5 separate regions of the Homo sapiens genome follow, and all the other regions are linked to region 5. The links are contacts of gene promoters, found by promoter capture Hi-C in blood cells and fetal thymus (Javierre and others, 2016). All regions are on one chromosome and are shown on one strand. The core of a region is centred on a gene start or on the middle of the fragment in contact, and the rest is flanking DNA. Distances in the headings are between cores, read along the strand shown. Region 1 overlaps VAV3 (vav guanine nucleotide exchange factor 3). Region 2 overlaps VAV3 (vav guanine nucleotide exchange factor 3). Region 3 overlaps VAV3 (vav guanine nucleotide exchange factor 3). Region 4 has its middle 21 kb from the start of LINC02785. Region 5 holds the start of VAV3 (vav guanine nucleotide exchange factor 3).

Region 1 (3,386 bases), core at 30-2,529, 100 kb before region 5:
ACCATTTGAAGTATTTAGGGGACAAATGTCATGATGCCTATCTATATTTACTTTTAAATTGTTCAGCAAAAATAGCGGTATATAAGTATTTATAATAGATAGTAGATGAATCAAATATGGTCAAATGTTAGTTTTTGTTTTTGACAGGGAGTCTCACTCTATCACCCAGGCGAGAATGCAGTGGCATGATCTCGACTCACTGCAGCCTCCACATTCTTGACTCAAGCCATCCTCCTACCTCAATCTTCCAAGTACCTGGGACTACACATGCATGGCACCACACCTGGCTAATTTTTGTATTTTTTTGTAGAGACAGAAATGATAATTTTTCAATAGTAGATATATGAGCGGTGATTGTAGTAGTTTTCTAGGTTTTATATGTTTGGTTATCTCTATAATAATTTAAGTTCTTGGGCTTTTAATTTAGCATTTTCCAAATTACCACTGGGAACAAAGGCTTTAAGCTAGTTCATGAACTCATTTCTGTATTAACCTATTGGGTTTCTTTTTTACTTGACTTCAGGGCTGCTGAGAGATCACTGTAATCCTCAAACCACTTGGTATGATGATAGTGTCCCTTTCTTTAAATGGCTTCTATTCTCTCCTTCGATTTTAAATTTCTTAACCTTTAACTGTGCTGTTTCATATGTGTTATCCTAATCAGACATTTCAAATTACCCACAGAAGTTAGAAAGAAATAATCAAAAAAGAAAGAACTGAGGAGACGACGTTTATTTCATTTTAAGAAGAGAAGCCAAGCACAGTGGCGTGCACTTGCAGTCCCGGCTACTCAGGAGGCTGAGGCACAAGGACTGCTTGTGCCCAGGACTTTGAGTCCAGCCTGGGCAACACAGTGAGACCCTATCTTTTACAAAAAAAGAAGACAACAAAGAAGAAAAGACTTACAGAAACATAACAATCTTCAAATATTTGAACGATTGTCCTACAGAAGGTGTAGAAATTAATTCTGTGCTGCTCTAAAACCAATGGAAGAAAATTTAGAAAGATAGATTATGCTTTATTATTAGTGATGAATCTCTAGATAATTCATTATCCATAACTGGATCCATAATTGGAACTGTTGCTACTTAAGAAATTTCTGTTACATCTCTAGGAATTGTTCAAATACTGCAGAAGGGATTCCAACCATGAATCCAAAACAGTATAGAAAAAAAGGAATATATGCTTTTGATTGCTTATCTTTCTACACGTCTATGTATTTGGAGAATCTTGGGTGCAGTCAACTGACCAAATTCCAAGTAAACAAAGCTAAAAATACTTCAACAATTTTTTTGTAAAAGCCAACGCTAATTAATATCATCTCCCTTTCATCATTATACTTCATAGTAACTTTGCTAAAATTCTAAATTGCTATCTCCCCAAGAAACTGTACTTTATCATCTGGCAGCCAATAAATTCTAATTTTTCTGCTGCTTCTTCCCAAAAGCCTAAGGCTATTAGGAAAAATCAGCAGTGATTTTGGTAAAGAATCCTTGTTAAACTTTATAGATATAAGGAGCAGATGCATAGCTAATTCTAACATGAATCTAGCCTTCTATGTATGTTTTTATTACTCTACCCAATCCATATCCAATGCTATCAATCATCATTAAAATTTGACCTAGACTGACCAATAAAAATAGTGTCCAGTGTCCACCCATATCCGAATATAACCATTCTAGATTGATCATCTTGTCTAAGATGAATTATAAATATGCAGCTACTTTAAAAGACAACTCAAAGAGTGTAAATGATTCAGCACACAATCTATAAGGCACCTGCTTACTCAGAAGCAGCAAGCAGCATCCTTCATTTCCTCTACACAGAAACAAAGAATGAGAGTAGCAAGGTAAAGCCTATACCTAAGGTCACCAAGCACATCTCTGTGCAAAATTAATTGTGTATACACATGCATACATACTTCAGTGGGGAGTGTTCTGAAAGATTTAAAAACCATTCATTTTTCTAACCTAATGATTTCTGACTGCTCTACGCACTGGCCTGTCCTGACACCACTGGTCCTCAGACACTATGTTGATTTAGCAGAACTTTTCATGTCCAAAGAGCATTATAATTGGCATTGAGGCAAACCAGAGAAAGGCCCATATTCAACTAATATTTCTTCAATGGAGTTCTCCAAAGACACAGGTGCTTTAAGTGGAAAACAAGTGACTCAGAAACTAAACTCTATCCAGAGGAAGCCTGCGCAGCCGGACTCCACACAGCTGCAGTGACTGCCAAGCATTGTTTCCTGTAGTTGTTTGGTGCTCATACCACTACTGGTGCACACTTCCTCTGCCTAATCCTGTGCAAATGAGAGCATTCAGCCAGTTCCACCCCCACACTACCCCTCTCACTGAGCATGGGAAGCAAACACCAGCCTCCTTTATTCCTACAGATGTGCATAAGCCATTAAAAAAAAGAAGACACAGAAAATAAACATGGAAAGTGCCATCCTCCTTTTCTAGGAGATCTTGTTGATAGGAAATACACAGGCACAACAGTCAAAGGCCAAGAGTTCTGCCTCACTGTTGTTTGTGTAGACAAGTAAATTGACTATTAATATATCACCCACTGGAATTAACCAATTCTCCTTACATATTTCTCATCCATCATATTTACAATTTATTGTAAGCAAATGAAGACTCAATGACCTCCATATGTAACTTGGATAAACTACATCTTACCCTTAAGCCAATGTGACAAGGTCAAGGATTTCTGAACACAGCTCAGATAGGATACGGCCCAACAACTAAGGCTAGGAATTAGAATACGTGCATTAGTGAGCATATATGTGCCATAGCCTTGGAAATACAGACAAATATTCCTAGAAGGTTTCCTATTACACAGAAAGAAAATATTTTCCATTTTTAATAGAAATGATAAACCCCAAATTTCTAAGTGTTCTACCAGGGACCAAGCTTCCACTAGATAATCAGTAAATACCAAAAAAACCCAACCAAGCAACCAACTGAACATCAAAAAAAGGAACAAAGGGAAAATTTAGGATGGCACAATATAGCAAAAATCATAGAAAAATAAAACATATCTACTCGGTTGTAAAATATACATAAATTAAGGGTAAATGCCATTAGAATTCTCCTACATTAATTTGAAACCCACTGTAAGTTATATTTGCTCTTGCTCCATTATTTCCCTTGCAATAAACCCTACTTTTCCCCTCGCCAGGTTTCCAAGGCTCACTATTCTCTCTTCTCATCCTCTGACCACTCACTTCAATTCTTAAACATCCCAAATCTCTCAAACTCTGGGCCTCTTTTACAGTTGCTCTAGTAAAGGTCTGCATCATTTTTTAACCAGACTGCCTCAGTTTCAAGTCTGCTCCTCCTACCACTGGCATTACAATTATCCACTACAGCCTCCCC
Region 2 (2,999 bases), core at 307-2,806, 64 kb before region 5:
TAAGGCAGAATGATGTATCAAGGCTGAGTGAAGTCCTTTGCAGTGTTACTTCATCTAATCTTCAGGATTATTTTATGAAATAGGTATTGTTCCCATTCCCGCCTGGGTATTGTTCTAGGTGAGGTACGTGTGGTTAGAGAATGAAGTAACATGCCTAAAGCCAAACTAATAATAACTGGTGAATTAGGTTTTGAAAGCAGATCAGAAGTCTTACTTGGCTGCCTCTGCTTTTCCCAGAACAGATAAGCAATAAACATAAGGCTTACTTTGATCTGTATCTTAGCTGGGTGGCTCTTTAGTTTCCTGAAACCTGACCCCTTCAAGAATCTCCTTAGGTCTTTCAACTATTCTTTCTCCATAAAATTCCTTTTTTTATATTCATACACTTTCAGCATACTTAATATATATCAGCAGGCATTTGTAGCTCACTAAAATTATCTCTTCTTCTTCACTTTTCAAGGAACTCAATCCTGCACTAAACACATTACAAAGTAAAGCTCAAGGCTCAAGGTGTGATATTTTCCATAATTTGAAACAGTTACACATGGATAGAAATACATTTGCTACATAGACTACAAGCTTCGACACTTAGGAAACCTACTGAAAATTAACAGGATATGAGAAGTGAAAACGTGGTACAGTGTAGCCGCAAAGTATATCCATAGTATACTTTGTAGCCACACGTCAGGAGGAAGTTACCTTTATGCACCCCTTACCACTGCATGCAAATTTGATATTTTCTCTACATGCTTTTGGAAAATGTGCTAATAACTAAATCATCAACACAGTACTTGCAAATTGTTTTTAGGCCTTCAACTCTTAACAGGGAGAACATGAGAAGTTTCTCTTCCACGTGCAAAGTGAAATGTTACACCTTATAAAGTCTAGACTTTGAGAAGGCCATACCATATCAGACCCATATTCAATCCACTAAATCTGCTGTCAAGATCATTGTAAACCATGAGAGCATGTTGATAAGTGCAGTCCATTTACAGAGGGATCACTGCCTGTAAACCACAACTGAAGCATGCTAAAATAAGCAGTGTGATTGATACTGTATTTTTGTAAATGGTCCTATAAATGATCTTCTGAAATAGCTATCCTCACCAGGACATGGAGAAGATATGCTCAGTTAACCGAGGTTATTGCATCACAATAGGGACTTTGTGGTCTCTGAACTTAACAGACATATCTTATACAAAACTATTTGTGGTAGTGGTGGTAGTGGTGCATAATTTTCAATTATACAAGAAAATAGTGTCCACAAGTTATTTTTTTACTCACTCAGTCTTCAGTTGTTAATGAATGCATTTCCTTACCTTGTATATTTTACGTAAATAAGATTTTTATAAAGAGACTCAGTAATAACTGTGTCACCCACTTCCACATAAAATCAAACAATTGGCAATAAGATATGCCAGACTGTACTTACTAAAGATTACTGGACTGTAAATATAAATCGGACCACCATGGAAAGATATGGCTATAAATGCTGACAGTATAGCAAGGGAAAAATAATTTACACCAGCTGGGGAGCTGCTATGTCCCAGGTATTGTAGCTGACAATTTACCTATGTGATTAAAAAGCACTAGGAAGCAAATAATTTCTGGCCTGTGTCCCATAACCTACTAGTTTAAGATTATTGGTTGGTGGTTCCTAAATTATACACCAAGGTATCCTGGAACACCACAGCAAACTCAGAGACACTGCAGGATATTTTAAATTTTCACCAAAAAAATCACAAGAATATTCAGCATCTGATACTGCATGAATTACTAGCTCAAATTACTGTGTAGTTTTAACATTAGATCCCACTAAGTTCCTTTTAATGGTGTATCTTTGTGAAGCTGGATATTCAGCAGATGCAGTGGTTAACAACTAAACATGGTACAACAATCAATGTAAAACAAAAAATGAGGGTGTGGTGGTGTGTAATCTTATTCCAAGATTTGAGAAGTTATGTAGTGCCCAACAGGCACACACATCCCATTAGTAATAATTGTGGGTATTTAAGAATAAAATAAAAATAAAAATATTTTTCCTTTCAATGTACTTGTATTATTTTCTTTCAACCAACTACTATGTTGTTGGGACATAAATATTTATTAAATTGCTTAGAGATAACTACTTAAAAACAAAACTGGGCTGGAGAGGGTGGTTCACGCCTGTAATCCCAGCACTTTGGGAGGCCAAGGCGGGTGGATCACCTGAGGTCAGCAGTTCGAGATCAGCCTGGCCAACATGGTGAAACCCCGTCTCTACTAAAAATACAAAAATTAGCCACGCATGGTGGCATGCACCTGTAATCCCAGCTACTCGGGAGGCTGAGGGAGGAGAATCGCTTGAACCCAGGAGGCGGAGGTTGCAGTTAGCCAAGATTGTGCCACTGCACTCTGGCCTTGACTACAAGAACAAAACTCCATCTCAAAAAAAAAAACAAAAAAAACAACAACAAAAACTGTTATTGTTTTGGCCTGCAAAATAAAAAAATAAAAAAAAATTCAGAGAAATATTAAGCATGCCTTAAACTAAGAAAGCTTAAGAACTTCTGCTAAAGATGAATTCTAACTTTCCAAGCTAAAGGACAGGAGGCTAGACCAAGGGTCTCTACAGACTTTGCCTAGTTTTCTGTGCTAAGTTTCTAAAGTGATTAAAAGGCCATCTGTGATTGAATGTACAATATCTTTTTACATTATCAGTGTAACAGATGGAGATGTAATTGTTTCAATTTTTTTTAATCTTACATTGACTTTATTCATCTTCCATTCTGTGTCATTTGTCTACATATGATGATTGCTTTGTAAGCAATTATATAATGTTTCACATTCTGGAAGAATAACGCATCTATTTTTGGTACCATCCCCTGTTTTCTGCCCTTTCACTATTGCCATGCACCTAAGTACCGCTAGATAGTCTTATGTAGGAGTTTTTTAGGTAATTTTCTCCATAATATGCATTTATTCTTTACATTGATTTATGATTTTGTTTTGTTCTTTTA
Region 3 (3,309 bases), core at 580-3,079, 82 kb before region 5:
TGTCAAGCTCTATGCTAAATGTTTATGCCATTCAATCCTCACAACAATCCAATCAGAAAAGTTTTAATTTTTTTTTAAACACATACTGAGGCTTAGAGATTTACCAACATTTACATAACTGCTTTTGCCAAAGCAATGGAGTCAGGATTCAAATCCAGACATTCTGGCTACAGGGCCCATATCCTTAACTACTATGTTATATTAACTCCATTTTTGCAGCTTATAGAATTAAATGTTTTTCTTCTTACTAGAGAGATGATGTGGCATAGGAAGACAAGACAAGGACAACCAGGACATTATCATATAATTTAACAAGAAATAATGGGATTTAGACTAGGATAGTAGAAGGAGAGATGGGAAGAACTCCAGGAGATTACATGGAAAAGAAATATTTGGTAATTGATTGACTGTGTGTGGGGACGCAGTGGGAGAGAAAAGAGAAGACCTCAGAATTATAACTGTACCTCTCTCTGCCTTGGGCACTGGAAGGATAGCAGGGCATTCACTGAAAATGGTAACTTAGCAAATTGGGGGACATAGTATGTGAAAAGGAGGCCAGGGAGTCAGTTAATTCTTGTCTTCACATATAAAAACTCCCAGTAATTAGATGCTGCCTAGCCTCTCTCTCAGGTATATCCAGTGAAAAGTGATGTATTCTAACAACAAAGCCATGTGTCTTCAACAACCATGCGTAGCCTCTCTCCCTCTTCAGAAGGGCATGAATAGCTCGCTTATTTCAAGGTGAGGAAGGAAAATGGTAGAAAAGCACTCAATATCAATGCACATAACTTCCGAAGAAGAAAGTTTAACACCATCAAGGTCTAAAACATCCTAAAATTATAAATCAGGCCAAAGCTCTCTGGATTAGAAAATGTTTCATAACCAGGTAGCTACCACAACAGACAAGGCATGAGTGGCTTTTCAAGGTGCAGCCTCCTGTTACCACTTTAATGTTAGCAATATTGACGCTTAAAAAAGGAAACATTTGAAGGTCAAACTGCTAAAGTTCACTACAAAACTCTGAATCGCTCCTTTTCCTCTACCCCTTAAAAGTGTATGGTTTCCTTTTTCTCTATGTGTAAAAGCCATCTTGACTTTTCTCAAAGATATGAATGCAAACAGGATGGCTTCCCTTTTTATTTGAAAAAATAAACACCGACTTCTCCAAAGTTGCTAGGAATAATGGACTAGTGGTGTTAACTGAGGCAATGGAAGAGGAAAAATCTCTACAGCTTATTGTGAGATGAGTTATTTCAGTCCCAAATGAGAAATGACATTTCATGAGAAGGTCGGTGAGTGCTAATAGACCTTCACACAATGTAGATTTTCTAACTTATATTTGATGAGGCAAGGACCACCCAGAGCCAACCTGTGTGTTGAAGAAAGAAGCTCTCAGCATCTCAGAATAAAGAAGTTCTCAGTAGGACACTTGCTATTGAAAGATCGGCCCTGAATTTGAGGGTCTGGCATAATTCAAATTATGAGTGGCCATTATAATAAGATGATTGGCAGTTTCGAAAGGCACAGAAGAGACGACCATGAAACCGATTTACAAACATTAAGGTACAAGAAGAATTCTCCTTCTCTTCTCATCATAACTCCTCCTCTATACCTCTCCAAAGGTCTCAGATCATCCTTTTTTTTAACTGGTAAGGAGGAAGAGGTGTAAGGAATATAATAATATCAAGCTTCTCTCTTACTGGAGTTCCCTATTTCTGTCCCTTTCACCATATCTTCTCTATATCTCTCTTTTAAAATTAGGTGAGCTAAATCTTACATCTCCTAGAAATTTAATAAAAGAATAATTTTTATTTGTATGAGGACCTTATTTGTCCTTTTCCCCCGTGTATCAGTGGGTCCCAACAGAAGGGGCATCATCATCCTCATTCTAAGAAATCATACCTTCAAATATCCCCTGAATTACAAAATAAGTATGCTACATGTGGTATCAGTTTAGGACTGCACAATATGAAGCTTCAAATTATTTTCATACTGATGCTAATATCACAGTAAATGATGACCCTAAAGGACATGCAGAGAGGACATAAATGGAGAAGGGTTGTTCCTTAGCTGTAATCTTGTCATCAGTTCACTAAACCAAAACCTCCCTATTCTCAGCAATTTAAAAGCCAATATTTCTGTTTTGATTATTGTCCAGGCCACAACTCATTTCTAATGGGTAATTTTTTAAGTCATTCGTTCAAAAATACAGTAATTTACCATTTAAAGTTAACAGGTTTTTTTTCACAGTATTCAATGATAATGTACTTTCATGAGTTATATGTAATTATATTGAAATGGCTAAGCTCATAAATGCAGGGCTAAATTGTAAAAACACATGCACCCTCTTTGCTCTGCAGCACCCGGCTCACATCTGTTATGGTAATAACTGTGCTTAACTATAATATATCTGTCTGACTACCTAGTGCCCTAAGAAATAGTAAATATTTGAGAGTAAAGAATACATCTATATTGTCTTTGTATCCCAAAGCTTTTATAGCACATACATGTTTTCAAATAAATTGATGAATGAATCCTGATGCAGTTTATCTCTAGGAAAAATTAAATGCAACGATTCCTTAGTAGTCAGGGAACTCAGTAAAATTTTACATTAAATTGTCATCATATCTTCTTATTTCAATGTTAATGTAGCAATGTGTCTTTTTAAACTTACCTAAGAACATTTTTAGAAGTTATATTAATATTTATAAATAATATCAATAAAGATTTTAAATTATTAGGCAATTACATTCTTAAGCATGATCTTTAGTCTGTGTTTCCTGCCTCTGGTGTGTGTTCAATGGGAAGCTGCCAACTGATTTTCAGGGGCCCTTGGCCAGCAGTCACCATAACACACACACACAAGCCCTCTGCTGCTTTCAACAGCTCTTGTCCTTATAAGAGGAAGCACTGCACCCCTCTCCCTTGGCAGAAACTTAGACTTAGAAACTCAGTTTCAAAGGTTTTTCTGTCAACACCTGCATTAGTCCCTGGACATACAAAAGGAAGACAAGCAGCATCTTTACTCCTCCTTTTGTGTTTTTAGTCTTTGCACTAAAAAACTGAATACCTTGGAAGTGCAGAGGTCAAAGTTAGCCTGGATCATCTATTTTCCTAAGTTAATTAACCTGCTAATGAAAGTGGTGCATGTCGCTGCCTTTGGTGAAAGAAAGTAGCACTCAACTATTTTGTTAGCCAGAAGACAGCTAGCTCAAAGCAACCCAGAGATGGGGCCCAGTTTAAAAAAAAAAAAAAAGTTAAAAAGAATAAGACCTAGTATTTGTACAACAGGCAGACTATAGTCAATAA
Region 4 (3,063 bases), core at 423-2,922, 120 kb after region 5:
AATCAGTCCATATGTTGTATTTCTATGAATGTAGTCTGAAGCCAGCCACAGTCTTCTATGGCTGTGGAATTGCTACATATCTTTTTCTGTTTACTGAGACAGGATCAAGACAGAGACTTCCTGACAAACAAAAGAGCTTGCCTGAGGAGAGAAGTAATTGCTTATTTATCTCTTAAACACAGTACTGAGGGCAAGCACAGATGGCTCCCTAACTCTCCCTGTGCCTTTAGGAAAGAAGACAAAATGTCACAAGTCTAGAGCCAAAATACCATAGGATGCTTTAAGAAGGTTAAAAAAAAAAAAGGGTCCCAGGTAATAACCAAAAAATCAAAATGACAAACATCTCTCATGGGTAAGACACAGAATTCTTCTTAAGGATGTGATAATGTTGGGAAAATGACCCTACGTCCCCTGGTAAATAATTTCTAACCTCTCTATAGCATCTCCTCTGAAACAGGAGGGCCTTTGAGATACAACTCTGTCCCCACCCTCACCCCACCATATTTACTGTTCTTTTGAAAGGATATAAAAGCTCTTCCTTTGACCTCCAAATACTCAGAGGATTAGGGAAAACCCTTCCTGGCAATTATTAGTATTATAGCTATCATTATGTTTTGCTGAAAAGGAAATATGAAAAATATATTTAATAAAAGATATTTTAAGAGAAAACAAAAAACAGTTTAGAAAACTAAACTGTCCTATCTAATGTGACATTCAGGGGCTCAAAAGTAGAGTGTTCAAGCAATTCTAAGCCTTGATTGTGTTCTCTTACACACCATTTAAAAGAACAGCCACAGGAGAACATCTTCTGAATTATTTTAGGTAACTATTGACAACCCTTTGCAAAGCCGCAGAGGCTGCTGGTGTTGGTGTAAACCAGAGTGCCCTTTAAACCAGTAAATTCCACTTGTAGGAAATTACCCTACAGAAATCATCACTGTACACAAAGCTGCTTATAGTAAGATATTCACCTCATCATTATTCATGATAGTGGCAAAACTGGAAATAAATATCTCATAATAGAGAATCAGCAACATATACCATGCAGCTATGAAATGATGCCATAAAATATTTATTGTTATAAAAAGATGTTCGTGATGTTAAGGAAAAACATGAAGGTTATAAAAGAGATGATTTAGTATGATCCGAATTTTATTTTTAAATGAATTATTACCATAGAGTACAAAATGCTTTCCTGGGCAAGTGCTGGCCCTGATTCAGGAGGCTGGTGGATTTGCAGGCCCCTCACCATATACCTATTTGCATTTCAGCTTGAGAATTACAGAGTCTCTGGCCACAGTATTTATGCGCCCTAAATCGAGAAAGAGAGAAAAGACTTTTAGAAAATCCCAAATACTTGTGAGATTCAAAGTTTTTGTAAATTGTCTGAAGGATTGGAGTGAGAGGGCAGACCAAAAGAGTAGTGAGAATTCTGAATGGAATTCCCCCTGTGGGGAGGAGGAATCAGGAGTAGTAGACAGGTCTTGGCCTCAGGGTTAAGGATCAAAGGGAGCCTGGTTCTAGGTCAGGATAGTGGCCTCTCTCAGAACTCTCCCCAACTCAGCTGTCCTGGAGACAGATTTGTATCAGAAGAGCTTTGGCCCTCAGGGGCCAGGGCCTATTTCTGTGAAGCTCAGAAAGTAAGTCAGACAAGTACTCCTTCATTCTAGATGTCCCAACACTGTCGCCTGCCCCAGCAATGGTGGTCGATGCAGCAAGTAATAGGGCCAGCAGGAGGTGGGGTCCAGCTGTCCAGATCCCTGAGGGGATGCCAGGGCCTCTGCAAAGTTGGCAGTGATACCAGCTTGTCCCAGTGGTCGGGGCAAGGGCCACTTCGCCATTGACACCAGACTCACTGGAGCACAAACAGCTTTGCTTTCGAGAAAGAGCCACTCTCACCCTGTGAGAGTGACATTTGAATCTCGGAATTAATAGACAACATCAACATTTTTGTTCTGCAACTTCAGAGCCAGCTATTCCCAGCTAGTGATAAACTCTCTGGGGAACTGGCCCCGTGACCAGTGGTGGCCTCAAGAAGGTGTCTGAGTTCCAACACTGCCTACAGATACAAAGATCAGGACAACTGTTAGGAATAAATGAGTGGCCTCTGCAATTCTCAGAAACACCAGTGGAAGAAAGAGGCTGGGAAAAGCTGGCCTTCCTGCTAATTTGGCTAAAGAGAGGTCTGGATGTCATAAGTGTCAATGTAAGCATGGCCAAGTCTAGGGAAACTTGCCTATCTACACTAGTTATACTTGCATGGGGGATGGTGCAGGGGGAAGGGGAGAAATAGTGGACAGCCTGTCCAGAATGATGATGAATCTTTCTCCAGTACACACTTGCCCCACAGACTACGTACTATATCTAGAACAAAAATTATCTGATGTTTGGCCTGCACTGTTATTGTACAGAAAAAAGTATGGATGCACTCAGAAAAGGGTGCCAGTGAAACTGAAATTAAAGGGACATTAAAAACTGCTTTGAAATTTTTACTTATAAGAGTTTCAAAAGAAACAAAAAGGCAAATTTAGCCTGGTATTCTGGAGGGCTTAATTGTGACAAGCGACCATAATTCCGAAATCATCTTATGATAGTCCCCTGAGCCCCTCCCCTTGTAAGCATTATGTGGACTGGGATTCCATGCCCAAGTCCAAATGCTTCTGTCTACTTGGGGTATGGGAAGGTGGAATCTCCTGAAGAAGGGGTAGGGATAAGGAAGAGATGGTTACGGCAGCAATTGCATGCCTGGATTGGGGATGGATGTGTAAGGGGTGGCCCACGAATGGAGTACAACCTCAGCCCATCTAAAGTACTTGCCCAATACTGCAGGTGAGAGGCTAGGGACTTTCTGGATTTTTTTTCTTGTCCTCGTCCTGAGTGCAGATCCTGCCAAAAGACAGAACCTGCTTCCTCTCCTAAAGCTGTCACAACTGGAACACCTTGTTTAAATCTTGGAAACTTTTATTTTGAAGTGTGGGAAAAGAAACTGAGGAAGAAGATCAAAGCAAGGAGTAACATTATGCTCTTCTGAAGTGTAATACAGTCTGTGTCAGGGAAAAGGCA
Region 5 (3,034 bases), core at 96-2,595:
TAAACTACTCTTCCACTGAACTGTGACTTTTGAGCTGACTCTAGGGTGCACCCAACCTTCCAGAGGTGTCTGGCTTAACCCTCAAAGAGGCAGCTCCAGCCCCAGGAGCCGACCGGCACCACAGCACCTGAGCAGGGCACTGCAGGAAGGAAAGCGGAATCTCTAGTGAAACTTCTCATTTCCTGTCGCTGCTGAGAGAGGCTGGACTCGCTCCTTCTCACATGGCTTAGGAAGAGCTGTAAACGGGAGCTTGCCGGCTGGCCACCAGCTCAGGGGCCCTGGGGGCGGCCTCCGGGTTCTGCTCCCTGTTCTTCCCTTTGACCAATGTCACTCCTGGACAGATAACGGGACCAAACGCCCTTCACTTCCTCGAGTCCTCATGTATGTCATGGTTCCTCTTTTAGGAAAACATGAGTACAAGACGCAAAGCAAAAGAAGAGACTAAAGGCAAATTACCCCATCACCTCGTTTCGTCCCTCCCCTTCGTTATTATAGAAGAGCTTGATCAAATTCCCTTTGTCGCGCCACACACACGCAGAGTAGGTGAAGGGCACCCTAAGACAACTTATTTCTTTCCCGCCTCACAGAAAGCCTTTACGAAATCCTCACACCATCTCCGGACGCAAAGCTTTCGCATTCAGCTTGAGGAGCTAAACCATTTCAAGCCAAGGTAGGAAACGCCAAAGTGGTGCCGAAGTGGTCCCAAAGCAGAAGGCTGGGAAGCAGGGCAAGCTCAGCGCACCTAGACGTTTGCATTTACACAAAGAAATTAGCCGCATGATTAATGGGAGCTGCCGGCTGGAGGCGGGGCGCCCGTGCCGGCCTCCTCACCTGGGACATCTGCGGCCTCAGGTTGATCTCCTTCAGGTTGATGGAGTGCGCCCGGAGGTTGTTAAGCAGCTGGCAGAGCAGGACTCCATCGCGGAGGGTCTGCGCAAGGTCGAACACCTGAGCCGAGTCCCAGGTCACCCGGTGGTTGGTGGGCAGCACCTTGCAATGGATGAGCCACTGCGCGCACTGCTTCCACGGCTCCATGCCCGACGGCTCCGGGACGCGGCTGGGCCGGGGCGGGCGGCAAGGATGCGGCCGCCGCCGCCGCCGCCGCGGTTCCTCCGCGCCCCGCCGACGCCAACAGCCGCCGGCCCTTTCCCCGCGCGGGATCGAGGGAGCAGGAGCCGCGGCTGACGGGTCGCGGGCGCCGCGCTAGGCTCGGCTCCGGTCCCGGCCCGGGTGCGCCGCGACCCGGCCGCCGCTGCAGCGAGTCCCGCGCGCTCTCCGTGCGCCCCGGCCGGCTCGGCGGCGGCTGCCGCGCACAGGCTTCCGACTCCAGCGCCCGGCCCGCCACTGAGCATGCCCAGCACGCCGGCCGGTCTCGCTGCGGTCCGCAAGTCCCCAGACGCGCGGGTGGGAGCGCGCCGGCGGCCGGGGCTGGGGTCTGTGGCCGAGGGCGGGGCGCGGGGGAGGGGCCGGCGGAGGGGGGCGGCGGCCAGAAAGGGGATCCCGCGCCCCCGCCTGCAGCCTTGCGGGGCTCACGCAGCCCCCGGCGTCCTGGGGTCTTCTCTCGGGGCGGCTTCCCGGCTTTGCGGGGAGTGTGGCTGAATACTGTAATACGATGGGGTCCCCCAGGACCCCCTAAACAACAAATGCTCAAAGGAGCGACGGATTAATTGGGGCACCCAGACTCCCCAGAGCAATGAAAAAAGTGCCTAGAGCATCAGTAGAGCACGGCGCTGAAAGTTTTAGAGATCGTCGCCCCCTCGCCCCTTGCAGCTCTATCCCCTCCATTCTCTATAGCTGATTCCTCAGCCTATTCCTCCTAGTTGCCCCTAGTGGTGTTTTGGCACCCTCAAAGTGAGTGAGAGTGCGTGTGTGGAGACGCCTGCGGAAACCGCCCCGATCCCTGAGCCTATTTCCTCGCGAGGTGATTTTCACTTGGAGCTGGTTTGCCCCTGCACTGTCAGGCTCGGAACTGTTTGCCGTTGCTGTTCTGGCCCTTTTGCTGACCCCACAAAAACCTGCTTGAGAAAGGCCTGTGCCACGGTGCTAGACTGCGCATGCGTCGGCGACTGGCGGCCGGGTTTGAGAGCAAAGCGCGTTAGCCCTGGGCAGCTCCTGCCGGGCTGTTCTGGGATCCTTAGTGAAAGTTGGAACTTGACCCCAGAACTTTTGCGCAGTGCACAAGCAGTGCATTCGTGTTTCTTAAGTAAATCTTTTGGAGACTCTAAACCCTACCCCTTTTACTCCCACTGCACACTGCCCCTCAAAACCACAATTAATGTTTAAATTATTTGTGGCAAGATATTGCCACAGTGAATTATTGCTGTTCGATAGGAATGTGGTCCTTCGTCACCCTTTTGAGATGCATTCACTTAAAATTAGAAAATAGGCCGGGCGCGGTGGCTCACGCCTGTAATCCCAGCACTTTGGGAGGCCGAGGCGGGCGGATCACGAGGTCAGGAGATCGAGACCATCCTGGCTAACACGGTGAAAACCCGTCTCTACTAAAAATACAAAAAATTGGCCGGGCGTGGTGGCACGCACCTGTAGTCCCAGCTGCTCGGGAGGCTGAGGTAGGAGAATCGCTTGAACCCATGAGGCGGAGGTTGCGGTGAGCTGAGATCCAGCCACTGCACTCCAGCCTGGACGACAGAGCCAGACTCTGTCTCAAAAAACAAACAAACAAACAAACAAAAAGATGGGAGTTTGGATAATTTAATTGTATTATATTTCTGTAGCCCAAATTTTTTATTACGAACCATGCTTTATAAGCAGGCCAAAATATTATTTTTAAAAGAATGATCTGTTCAGGATAGTGATTGCGTCCTTTTTCGTTTGGCTGTGACAAGGATAGCACACTGTTTACACTCAGCGCTGAACAATAAATCAGCCTGAGGATTTCCTTTCCTCACACGCATCCTTCCCTAGCAATTTCCTCTTGTGTTCAATGCGGATTCCATCAATAGCACGACATTTTCTAGGCCATAATTTTGGCAAATAAATCATACTAATCTCTACATACCTTTAGAAGCAAAAT

What was found. The method cuts DNA at HindIII sites, captures the fragments that hold promoters and counts their contacts. A CHiCAGO score of 5 or more calls a contact.
Region 1: a contact is called between a fragment that was not itself captured here and the fragment with the promoter of VAV3 in region 5, in 14 of 17 cell types (naive B cells, total B cells, monocytes and 11 more). The highest score is 11.1, in naive B cells.
Region 2: a contact is called between a fragment that was not itself captured here and the fragment with the promoter of VAV3 in region 5, in 4 of 17 cell types (total B cells, naive B cells, total CD8 T cells and 1 more). The highest score is 7.0, in total B cells.
Region 3: a fragment that was not itself captured here is called in contact with the fragment with the promoter of VAV3 in region 5 in 12 of 17 cell types (monocytes, naive B cells, total B cells and 9 more); the score reaches 9.1 in monocytes.
Region 4: a contact is called between a fragment that was not itself captured here and the fragment with the promoter of VAV3 in region 5, in 12 of 17 cell types (activated CD4 T cells, naive CD4 T cells, megakaryocytes and 9 more). The highest score is 9.2, in activated CD4 T cells.

What each region holds. Positions count from the first base shown.
Region 1 is chr1:107,859,997-107,863,382 of GRCh38, forward strand. All of the region lies in intron 2 of VAV3 (vav guanine nucleotide exchange factor 3), which reads right to left. Among named protein-coding and RNA genes, the nearest start is that of MIR7852, 36 kb to the right of the region's middle. The HindIII fragment of the contact is 3,279 bases long and covers 1-2,919 here.
Region 2 is chr1:107,899,617-107,902,615 of GRCh38, forward strand. All of the region lies in intron 1 of VAV3 (vav guanine nucleotide exchange factor 3), which reads right to left. Among named protein-coding and RNA genes, the nearest start is that of MIR7852, 3.9 kb to the left of the region's middle. The HindIII fragment of the contact is 1,959 bases long and covers 578-2,536 here.
Region 3 is chr1:107,880,899-107,884,207 of GRCh38, forward strand. All of the region lies in intron 1 of VAV3 (vav guanine nucleotide exchange factor 3), which reads right to left. Among named protein-coding and RNA genes, the nearest start is that of MIR7852, 15 kb to the right of the region's middle. The HindIII fragment of the contact is 286 bases long and covers 1,687-1,972 here.
Region 4 is chr1:108,083,527-108,086,589 of GRCh38, forward strand. No RefSeq gene overlaps it. Among named protein-coding and RNA genes, the nearest start is that of LINC02785, 21 kb to the left of the region's middle. The HindIII fragment of the contact is 6,284 bases long and covers 1-3,063 here.
Region 5 is chr1:107,963,835-107,966,868 of GRCh38, forward strand. It overlaps VAV3 (vav guanine nucleotide exchange factor 3), which reads right to left and starts at 1,346. Exons shown (of 27, transcript NM_006113.5): 1 at 832-1,346. The coding sequence starts at 1,035. It overlaps VAV3-AS1 (VAV3 antisense RNA 1), which reads left to right and starts at 609. Exons shown (of 3, transcript NR_046653.1): 1 at 609-670. RefSeq lists enhancers at 357-486, 1,833-2,127, 2,063-2,132. The HindIII fragment of the contact is 4,630 bases long and covers 627-3,034 here.